Regions from separate parts of the Homo sapiens genome. Here regions 2 and 3 are each linked to region 1. Evidence: promoter capture Hi-C in 16 types of primary human blood cells and fetal thymus (Javierre and others, 2016). All regions are on one chromosome and are shown on one strand. The core of a region is centred on a gene start or on the middle of the fragment in contact, and the rest is flanking DNA. Distances in the headings are between cores, read along the strand shown. Region 1 holds the start of NXT1 (nuclear transport factor 2 like export factor 1). Region 2 holds the start of SEC23B (SEC23 homolog B, COPII component). Region 3 overlaps SMIM26 (small integral membrane protein 26).

The links. Contacts are between HindIII fragments. The CHiCAGO score rates a contact against its expected background, and 5 or more counts as called.
Region 2: the fragment with the promoter of SEC23B here is called in contact with the fragment with the promoter of NXT1 in region 1 in 1 of 17 cell types (total CD4 T cells); the score reaches 5.8 in total CD4 T cells.
Region 3: a fragment that was not itself captured here is called in contact with the fragment with the promoter of NXT1 in region 1 in 1 of 17 cell types (total CD4 T cells); the score reaches 6.1 in total CD4 T cells.

What each region holds. Positions count from the first base shown.
Region 1 is chr20:23,349,269-23,352,196 of GRCh38, forward strand. NXT1 (nuclear transport factor 2 like export factor 1) reads left to right here and starts at 1,523. Exons shown (of 2, transcript NM_013248.3): 1 at 1,523-1,793. It overlaps NXT1-AS1 (NXT1 antisense RNA 1), which reads right to left and starts at 2,199. Exons shown (of 3, transcript XR_937384.2): 1 at 2,062-2,199. RefSeq lists enhancers at 524-1,396, 1,105-1,244, 1,164-1,458, 1,397-2,268, 2,325-2,374 and silencers at 815-944, 1,565-1,834. The HindIII fragment of the contact is 12,471 bases long and covers 1-2,928 here.
Region 2 is chr20:18,506,486-18,509,413 of GRCh38, forward strand. SEC23B (SEC23 homolog B, COPII component) reads left to right here and starts at 1,455. Exons shown (of 20, transcript NM_006363.6): 1 at 1,455-1,487. RefSeq lists enhancers at 996-1,325, 1,676-1,725. The HindIII fragment of the contact is 4,172 bases long and covers 745-2,928 here.
Region 3 is chr20:18,569,536-18,572,463 of GRCh38, forward strand. It overlaps SMIM26 (small integral membrane protein 26), which reads left to right. Exons shown (of 2, transcript NM_001348957.2): 2 at 1-25. Among named protein-coding and RNA genes, the nearest start is that of SMIM26, 3.6 kb to the left of the region's middle. The HindIII fragment of the contact is 2,280 bases long and covers 421-2,700 here.

The DNA.
Region 1 (2,928 bases), core at 273-2,772:
ATCTTCATACTTTTCTAGGTATGAATCGACCCTGTGACACCAGGATGGTTCTTTGTCAGCCTCCTTGTCTATAAAATCAGAAATAATGGTACCTCCCCCAATAAGTTATGTGAAACAAATTAAAGGGGCTTATTATACAGGAAACAAAAGCAGCACAGCATCCAAACTACTGAGCGTGCAGTAAATCAACGCATTCCCACTTCCATTCCATCCACGCTGATTTAGATCAATCCAAGTATCACTGCCTTGGGGTTCAAAAGGCCATGTTAGTTCACAAAGCCCCGAAAATGCTCTTTCACACTCTCTGCTCAGCCTCCAACGTGTCTTTTTAATAATCCAAACTTTCCACCTACTTAACTGAAGTGTGTGGGGGGAGAGGGTGCGGGGGGGAAGGGGTGGCCTATACTAAATAGCCCAACTGTTTTCCACTTGTCCTGAAATCTGAGACCAAGATTCTCTTAGGAATGCAAGCAAAGGGAGCCGACGGGACGCCAAGAAAGCACAGGTTAAACTACCTCACTTCATCTAGCCCCATTTCTCTCCTGGCTTTTCAATTAATTATTCAGCCTCAGACCAGCAGATGGAGCTGAAAATGTTGTCTAAAGAAATGAGGTTTTTCTTTTAATTTACAAGCTATAGTTTCTCATGCCTCCACACTGAATGGTTACATCCTGTTGAGCCTGTTCGTAAAGTTCAGTAAAAATCCAGTTCTCATTCCAGAACAGCTGAATCGTAGCTATGAACGCGGAAGAACAGAGTCCCAACCCCAGCCGGGCCCGGGTTTCCCGGGGCCCCTCAAGCCTCAGGGCAGTGGAGAGCCGCCGTCACGCCCCCGCCTCCCCCACGTCCCACCCTCGCCCCAGTCTCCTCCCACTTTTAGCTACTTTTCCCATCTGACTAAAACTGGCTTCCTCCGTGTCCACCAAGATGTCGCCTCTAAGTGGCCTAACTCCTAAAGAGCGCGATCGGCTCAAGCACTCCGCCACGCGGTTTCCACGGGGCGCGGCCGGCGTTGCCCTCGCCGTGGCCTCAAGCATTGCGGCGCCCCACATGTTGCCAGACGGAAGGCCTCGGCGGGGTCAGGCAGCTGCTGCTGGCCGTGACTACATCACTGGTGACGTTTCACGAGACTTTTAACTGAAATCACTCCAATACAGGCGCATGCGGGACGAGGGGAAAGCATCTCACCCGACCCCACACACCTTCCCCTCCCTCTCCAGCCTAGCGGCCTCCGCTCAGCGGAAAAAAAAGCAGACGCTACTCCCCGCTCTAGGTGCGGGACCTAAGAGGTTTGGCCCAATCAGGCATCCCACCTAACCAGACGGGCCGGAGTCTGTGGCCCGGTTGGACCAACGAAAACTCTAGGGCGGATTTGCCGGGATTTCTGGGAAAGTGACACTCCCGGAAGCTACCGCCTCTTATAAGCCACACATGGGCGGAGTTAGCCTTCCGGCCCGCAGTCCCACTGGCTGACTTCGCTGCCCGTCACGGGAATGCGGGAGAGGGCGGCGCCGGGGCGCTCGCGTCTGCGTGGAGACCGGCTGGCCGCGCGCGGGAAGCCGCGGAACTGCGCCGGAAAGTCCCCCGGCTCTGGGGCCCCGGTGACCCAGAGTAAGCCTCCAAGAAGGAGGAGGAGGAGAGAAAGGCGGCTCTTCCCGTGCCCCTACCAGAGGCTTCGGTGGGCCCACCTTGTGACCTCCGCGGCCGGCCCCTCAGTGGAACTGCGTCCCACGCGGGGGGCGTCCCGACCGTGGGGGCCGCGGCCCGCGCTGACCCTGGACGTCGCCGCGCAGGTACGTTGCCGTCCCCCGGCGGTCTGACCCCCGAGACAGCCCCTAGTGCATACCCCACGCCCTCCTCCATTGTCGAGAATGAGACACGGCTGTGCCTTTGTCCACGTGGTAGAGTTGCCGCCGCGGTGAGGCTCTCGCCTGTGCAAAAAGCGTGGCAGCGAATTCTCATCAACGAGGGGAGGCGCGTCCCCTCACAGCGCAGCTCTCGGGTCTGAGGAGGGCCGGGCAGGGCGTGCGTCTGTCTAGGTTTGAATTAAAGGCGACTCACAGGAAATAAGGCCATGCCACTGTGGTAGCTTTTCCCGTCCATCTCCGGACACTCGACGGTGTGGGTCGTGCGAGGAGGCGGCAGTCTTCACAGCCTCTTACTCTAGTCCTCACGGTCAGGTTCTTTTTCTGATTTGACACAGACAGCGGGACTGACGACCTCATAGGTAGCTGAAAACCGTAAGTGGAGATGGTCCTTCTATGGTGTGTGGGGGCGTGGCCAGTTGTTAGATTGTGTTTGGAAAGACAGCCAGGGGCGGAGAAGAGGGGCATTTCTGAGATGATGGGGGGACTGGTGCCATGGAGGGAGGAGGAGTGAGGTGGAGATCGGGAATTCCAGCCAAAGAGAAATGGGGTCCCTGGGAGAAAATTCCCACTCTAGCAGTCCTGGAGTTGTGCTCATGGAGACTTGCTTACGCGAGTACAAGGACAGCGTTGTATTGACAAAATTTCAGCCCTCAGTCTAGTCTTGTAAACGATAGATCAGGAGTGTACTTAACCGTCGTTACTTTGATCCAGCCCTAGGTTTCCCTTTTCTCATTTGTAAAATTGTTATAGTAATACCTTTTTCATCCATTTGTGGTAACATTTAAATGAGGTAATTTGTGTGAAGCCCTTAGCAAACACAGCGCTTCTTAGTCGTGGGTTCCGCGTGGGGTGGATTCAACCAACCTCAAATCAAAAATATTCTTCAGAAAAAGAAAAATGCGTTTGTACTGAACATGTAGAGGCTTTTTTTTTCTTGTCATTATTTCCTAAACTATACAGTATAACAACTATTTACATCCCATCTACATTGTATTAGGTATTATAAGTTACCTACAGATGATGAAGGTATATAGGAGGATGCTGCGCATAGGTTATATCA
Region 2 (2,928 bases), core at 205-2,704, 4.8 Mb before region 1:
TTTGTTTCCTTACCGAGAATAATTAATCTGAACTTCCTAAATTTATAAAAGTTTACTATTGATAAGCTAATATTAACATTACATTGTTTAAGATCCTGAAAAATGTGAATTTGTTCAACAAAACTGAATCATTCTCACATTTAACAGTAATTGTTTCTTTGTGCCTTAAACTATTAATAATTTCTATGATCTGTAGATAACTTAAAACTTAGTATTAAATTGAGCTAATTAATGGATACTTCTTGGATGCCTAGATATGTTCTTGCATAATTTTATGTTTACATCGTTTTGCTTATTTTTATATGCTACAGAGACTACAACTCTGAGTCACAGTAATGATGTGTTCATGTTTGCCACTTGTCAGCGTGTGTAAAAATGGTTGTGGTGGCTTTATACAGTTGTGTTCTATCGCGCCTTTTGCAGCAACATGGATGCATCTGGAGGCCATGATCCTAAAAGAATTAACGCAGAAGCAGAAAACCAAATACATGTTCTCACTTGAAAGTGGGAGCTAAGCATTGGGCACACATGGACACAAAGGTGACATTAATAGACGCTGGGGACTACTAGAGTGGGGAGGGAGGCAGGGAGGGGCTGAAAAACTTGGGTACTATGCTCAGTATCTGGGTGACCAGCTCATTCGAATTCGAAACCTCATAGCCAGGTAACAAATACGCAGTGTACCCCCTAAATCTAAACGTTGGAATTATTTTTTAAAAGAAAGTTATGTTCCATGTATTTCTAAGCTTACTCTCCTAAAATGGTTGAATATTACAGTTCTCAATTATTTATCTCCATGTAGAAGGATGACAGGGACTGTGCGCTAGTGCCAGCCTCCGCTGAGAGCGCCAAGACATTACAGCAAGCGACGGTAGGAGAGCTTGTAACGTGAAGCACCACCACACCTCTGTACTTCAAACTTAACCACAGAGACCGACTCCCAAACCAGCAAGTGCGTAAGCGCCGCCGCGCTCACCACCCGCCCCGCCCCTTCCGCATGCTAATGCCTTCTTCCGGCAGCCTTAGTTTCTTCCAACCAGTGCAGCTCCCTGTTCCGCGAGCATACGTCATCGTTCTCGCTTTCCGGTAGCTAAGGCGATCAGCGGGACTTCCCACTGAGACGAGCGGATGTCATATTGTATCAGGGCGAACCTCTGAGGAGCGCTGGCTGCGCTTAGGCAACGGTGCGGCAGGCGCCGGGGTTTTCTGAAACAGAAACGTTTAGGGGTGGGGAAACGTGTTCCGAGGAACTCTCGTTTTGAAGTGCGACATACACCTGTCTTGCCCTGTTCCAAGATGGTGGCAGAGCTTCTCTGAGTCTCTCGCTTCCTCCAGTCCGTCGGAGAAGCGCTCTTTGATTGGCCAGTGGACAGCGCCGTGGCATGACGCGCTGGGGCGCTGGCCAATCGGTTGAGAGCTGAGCTGGACTTGGCGGTGGGAGCCGGAGCCTGCTTGTTGCAGCTGTGGGTGAGGACGGCTCTAGCTAGGTGAGCGGCTCCGGCCAGGTGAGCGGGGCGCATAGGTGACGGAGGGCCGAGGGCACGGGTATGAGTTTCTGCCGGGGGCGAGGTGAGCGGCTTCTGGGAGGAGGCCTTTTCTTGACAGTTTAGGGTAGCGGGGGAATGGATGATCCGGGAGTCCCCTGCGGATGTCGTCCCGCACCAGGCCGGGACCGATTTCTGGCTCCAGTTTCCCCAGAATTGCGGAGTGCGCACACCTGGAAGGACCCAAGTCCCGTTTTATAGTTGAGAAACTCAAGACTCAGACAAGTGAAACGACTTTTGCTTCATGACAGCTGGAACTGGAACCCAGGTCCTTGGACTCCCTTCAAGGATTAAACCTCACTTATTCTTACATACACATGGTCACTGTGTCCTGAGAAGTTACGAGTTGGCGCGATAAGGGTGGTTCAGATTTTTTGGCATATTCTCCTGTTATCTTTCCAGGCCTTTCATTCATTCACTAATTCATACTTTCAGTTATTTACCTCTTCAGATACCTTCCCCGATACTTTGGTAAAAGCTATGGACCCATCTCCCTAGAAAAACGGCATATTCCCTCATGCGCATAACTTCAGATGATTAGTGGACCTTCTATAGTCCCCTTGGATTATGTGTCCACTGCTAAGAATCCAGACCCTAGAAGGGTGAGGGAAACAGGCAGTAGGAAAAGGAGGGAGCAGGTCTTAGGCTGTACATGCTTGGAAACCATTAGATGGAGGCAGTAGCTTCTTTTTTTTTTTTTTTTTTTTTGAGATGGAGTCTCGCTCTGTCGCCCAGGCTGGAGTGCAGTGGCGTGATCTCGGCTCACTGCAACCAATGCCTCCCAAGGTCAAGCAGTCCTCCCTGCCGCAGCCTCCCGAGTAGCTGGGATTACAGGCACCTGCCACCACGCCCAGCTAATTTTTGTATTTTTAGTAGAGACGGGGTTTTGCCATGTTGGCCAGGCTGGTCTTGAATTCCTGACCTCAGGTCATCCACCGGCCTCGGTCGCCCAAAGTGCTGGGATTACAGGCGTGAGCCACCGCGCCCGGCCGCCAGTGCCTTTTAATAAAGAACGTTTTGAGAGAGAGACGGTTATTTAATGAAATCTGCTGACATACTTGCTGAGAGTTGTGATAGAACTTGCTTTCATTCCGACTTTAGTTATCCCTTTGCTTCCCATGAAGCTCCAGAGTGCTTCCTGTGCACACAGTGCTTCAGGTTCTTGCCGTTGCCAGAAATAAACAGATTTCTTAGAGTTTCAGTTGGAGCAAACATTGGAATTCTTGTGTTCTGGGCTTTATGTAGTAGAGTAATTCATTTGCTTTTCTAGCCATGCAATATTATTGCCTTAATCAAAATTATTTACAGTATGGTACTTCCCAAAATAACAGACAGTTGTTATCCATATTCAGGAAGTGGGCGCGAGAGGCCACTTTAATTTGAT
Region 3 (2,928 bases), core at 311-2,810, 4.8 Mb before region 1:
GCAATAAATATTTTCTTGAAGGAAACTATCTGCGTTTTCTTTTTTTTTTTTTTTTTTGAGACGGAGTCTTGCTGTGTCACCCAGGCTGGAGTGCAGTGGCTCGATCTCGGCTCACTGCAAGCTCCGCCTCCCAGGTTCATGCCATTCTCCTGCCTCAGCCTCCCGAGTAGCTGGGACTAAAGGCGCCTGCCACCATGTCTGGCTAATTTTTTGTGTTTTCAGTGGAGACAGGGTTTCACCGTGTTAGCCAGGATGGTCTCCATCTCCTGACCTTGTGATCCGCCTGCCTCAGCCTCCCAAAGTGCTGGGATTACAGGTGTGAGCCACGGTCCCCGGCCTACTATCTGCATTTTCAAGAGGTGTTCCTCTGTATTTGCATGAGTGAAAGATTGCTGTGAAATTTCACATAGAGCTTCCATAAGCTTGATTTCCTGAAACTAGTTAATGTAGATTTATATTTCTTTCATGTTGCTATTAGGCACAGCTTTAGTGGTCGCTTTAAGGTTAGTTTCAGCAAATCTCCATATTCACTTTGGGATTCACAGTAGCCCTTTGGGTACTACTGCGTACTGGGTAAGTATGATATAAATTTGATTGTAACTTCTGAATTAAACAGACTGGACCTATTCTTTAGGACCAGTGCACATACCCCTCATTCCTTCAGCAAGTGTGGATTACCCACCAACTGTGGCCAGTGCTATTCTAATGCTGGGAATGCAGTCAGGACGACATGATTGATGCTGAACCAGTTTCCTCAGTGGTCTCTTGGTTGCAGGCAACAAACACAAGTGAGCTTAAATCAAAAGTGGGTGTTTATAAAAAACGTGTATTGGTAGCTCAGAATTAAAGCAGAGAGTATGGGCCAGGAGCGGTGGCTCACGCCTGTACTCCCTGCACTTTGGGAGGCCGAGGGGCGGATCACAAGGTCAAGAGATCGAGACCGTCTTGGCCAGCATGGTGAAACCCTGTCTCTATTAAAAATACAAAAATTAGCTGGGCATGGCACCGCGCACCTGTAGTCCCAGCTACTTGGGAGGCTGAGGCAGGAGAATCGCTTGAATCTGGGAGGCGGAGGTTGCAGTGAGCTGAGATCGCACCACTGCACTCCAGCCTGTTGACAGCGAGATTCCATCTCAAAAAAAAAAAAAAAAAGCAGTATGTTGTCTTCAGAAGGCCTGACACTGGGACCAGAATGCAGGCAGCCACTTGTTGAGCCTGCCTGGGCTCTTGGCCTTGCTTTTCTTATTGCACACCAGCTGCTTTTCTCACCTTTCTGGAGTAATACAAATATCCCAAGAAGATACTACCTCCCATGTGCAGTGCCAAAGTCTGACCAGCCTCTCCTCAACCTGGTCTTTGGCTTCCACCCTTGCGAGAGACTCAGTTCAGTTTTTATCAGATCCCTGCCTATGGATTATAGAGTACTGCCTCAGTTATGAATAAAGTGGCATTTGTTTCTCATTTAGGTAGTGTTTTCCTGTTCATAGCTGTTGGGACCCTGTGAGTAGAGATGTGATGTGTGGTAGGACAGGAATTGGGCATTTCAGGGTTCCTCTACAGTACTATGACCTTCAGACCCTCATCTTGATTTCTCATTGGTGTCAGTTCCACCATTATGGGTGGCCTGAGCAGTGCTGTGGTGCAGTCAGCCTTAGTGACAAGGATTCCAAAATCACAAGTAACAGCTCCAGATGCTGGTAGCAGAGACTCAGCTTCCCAAGGGATATCAGGTCAAGCATGGATTCGTGCCAATTGGCTGTGTATTCCAGTGGACCATCTTGGTTGGCATCAAACTGATGAATGAGAAGCAGTGTACGACAGTAGATGGGGAAGGTGAGAAGCAAGTGAATCAGAAGTATGGGAGAAATGGGAACAGTAGCATGAACGTTTTGGAAGACATTTCCTAACATGAGGGCTTCCAGAGAAACAAAGGGCAAGGGCTGAGGGGCTGTGGCACTTGGCAGGTGAGAGTTGTTAATAGAGCACACCGAGGATAAACAGCTGAACTTCTACTCTCACCTGGCAGTCTACCCAGGATTCATACACTTGTGGGGCTTAAGGGGACATTTGGGTTAGCTTTCCTTGGGACTTGGCTGGGTTTCTTTGCTAGATCTAATTTATTCTCTTATTTCAGCCCAGCGTTCTCCTGAACTCAAGATCCATGTCCATCTAGCATTGCCACTTGGATATCTAGCCACCTCAGCTTTGTCCATAACTTAAATTGCTGTCATCACCCACAAGGCTGCTCTTCCTTCCGTTCTCTTTCTCAGAGAGTACTCAGTTCCTCAAATTAGGAACCTATCATTCTAGACTTCTCCCTCTTCTTGTTCCTTCTCCTTCCTCCAGCCACCAGGTCCCATCATTTCTACTGCAAATATTCCACTCCATTCCCACCTTCCCATTCCCTTTACCACTACCTTACTTAAATCCTCCATCCTCTTTGCTTATGTAGCCTCAACTTCCTACTCTCTTTGTCTCTACTTGGAGTCCCCTCCAATTGGTTTCTACAGTATTAGCCAGCATGACTTTTTTGAAATTAATTTTTATATTTTTAACAAAGCAACAAATGCATTAAAAAATTAAATAATGATCAAAAGTTTGTAACCAAAAAAACAGTTCCTGCTTTATCCCTCCTTGCTTTCAACTATTAGGTTTTTTTTTTTTTTTTTTTGGTATTTACGTCCACATTTCTAAATAATAAGCTTTTACTAATATCTTTAATTTATCAATCATGTATGGGATTTATTAATGAGGATTTGATCCTCCTTTCCAACTGACTAACCAATAAAACTATTGCATATTTTTGATGAATCAATAATTAATATTTACCCTGTTTTAACTATGCAAACATAGTTTGTTGATAAGCCAAGTAAGTGAGCTATAATTGTTTCTCATATAACTTTTCTTTCTGGAGTTAACTGCACTCTT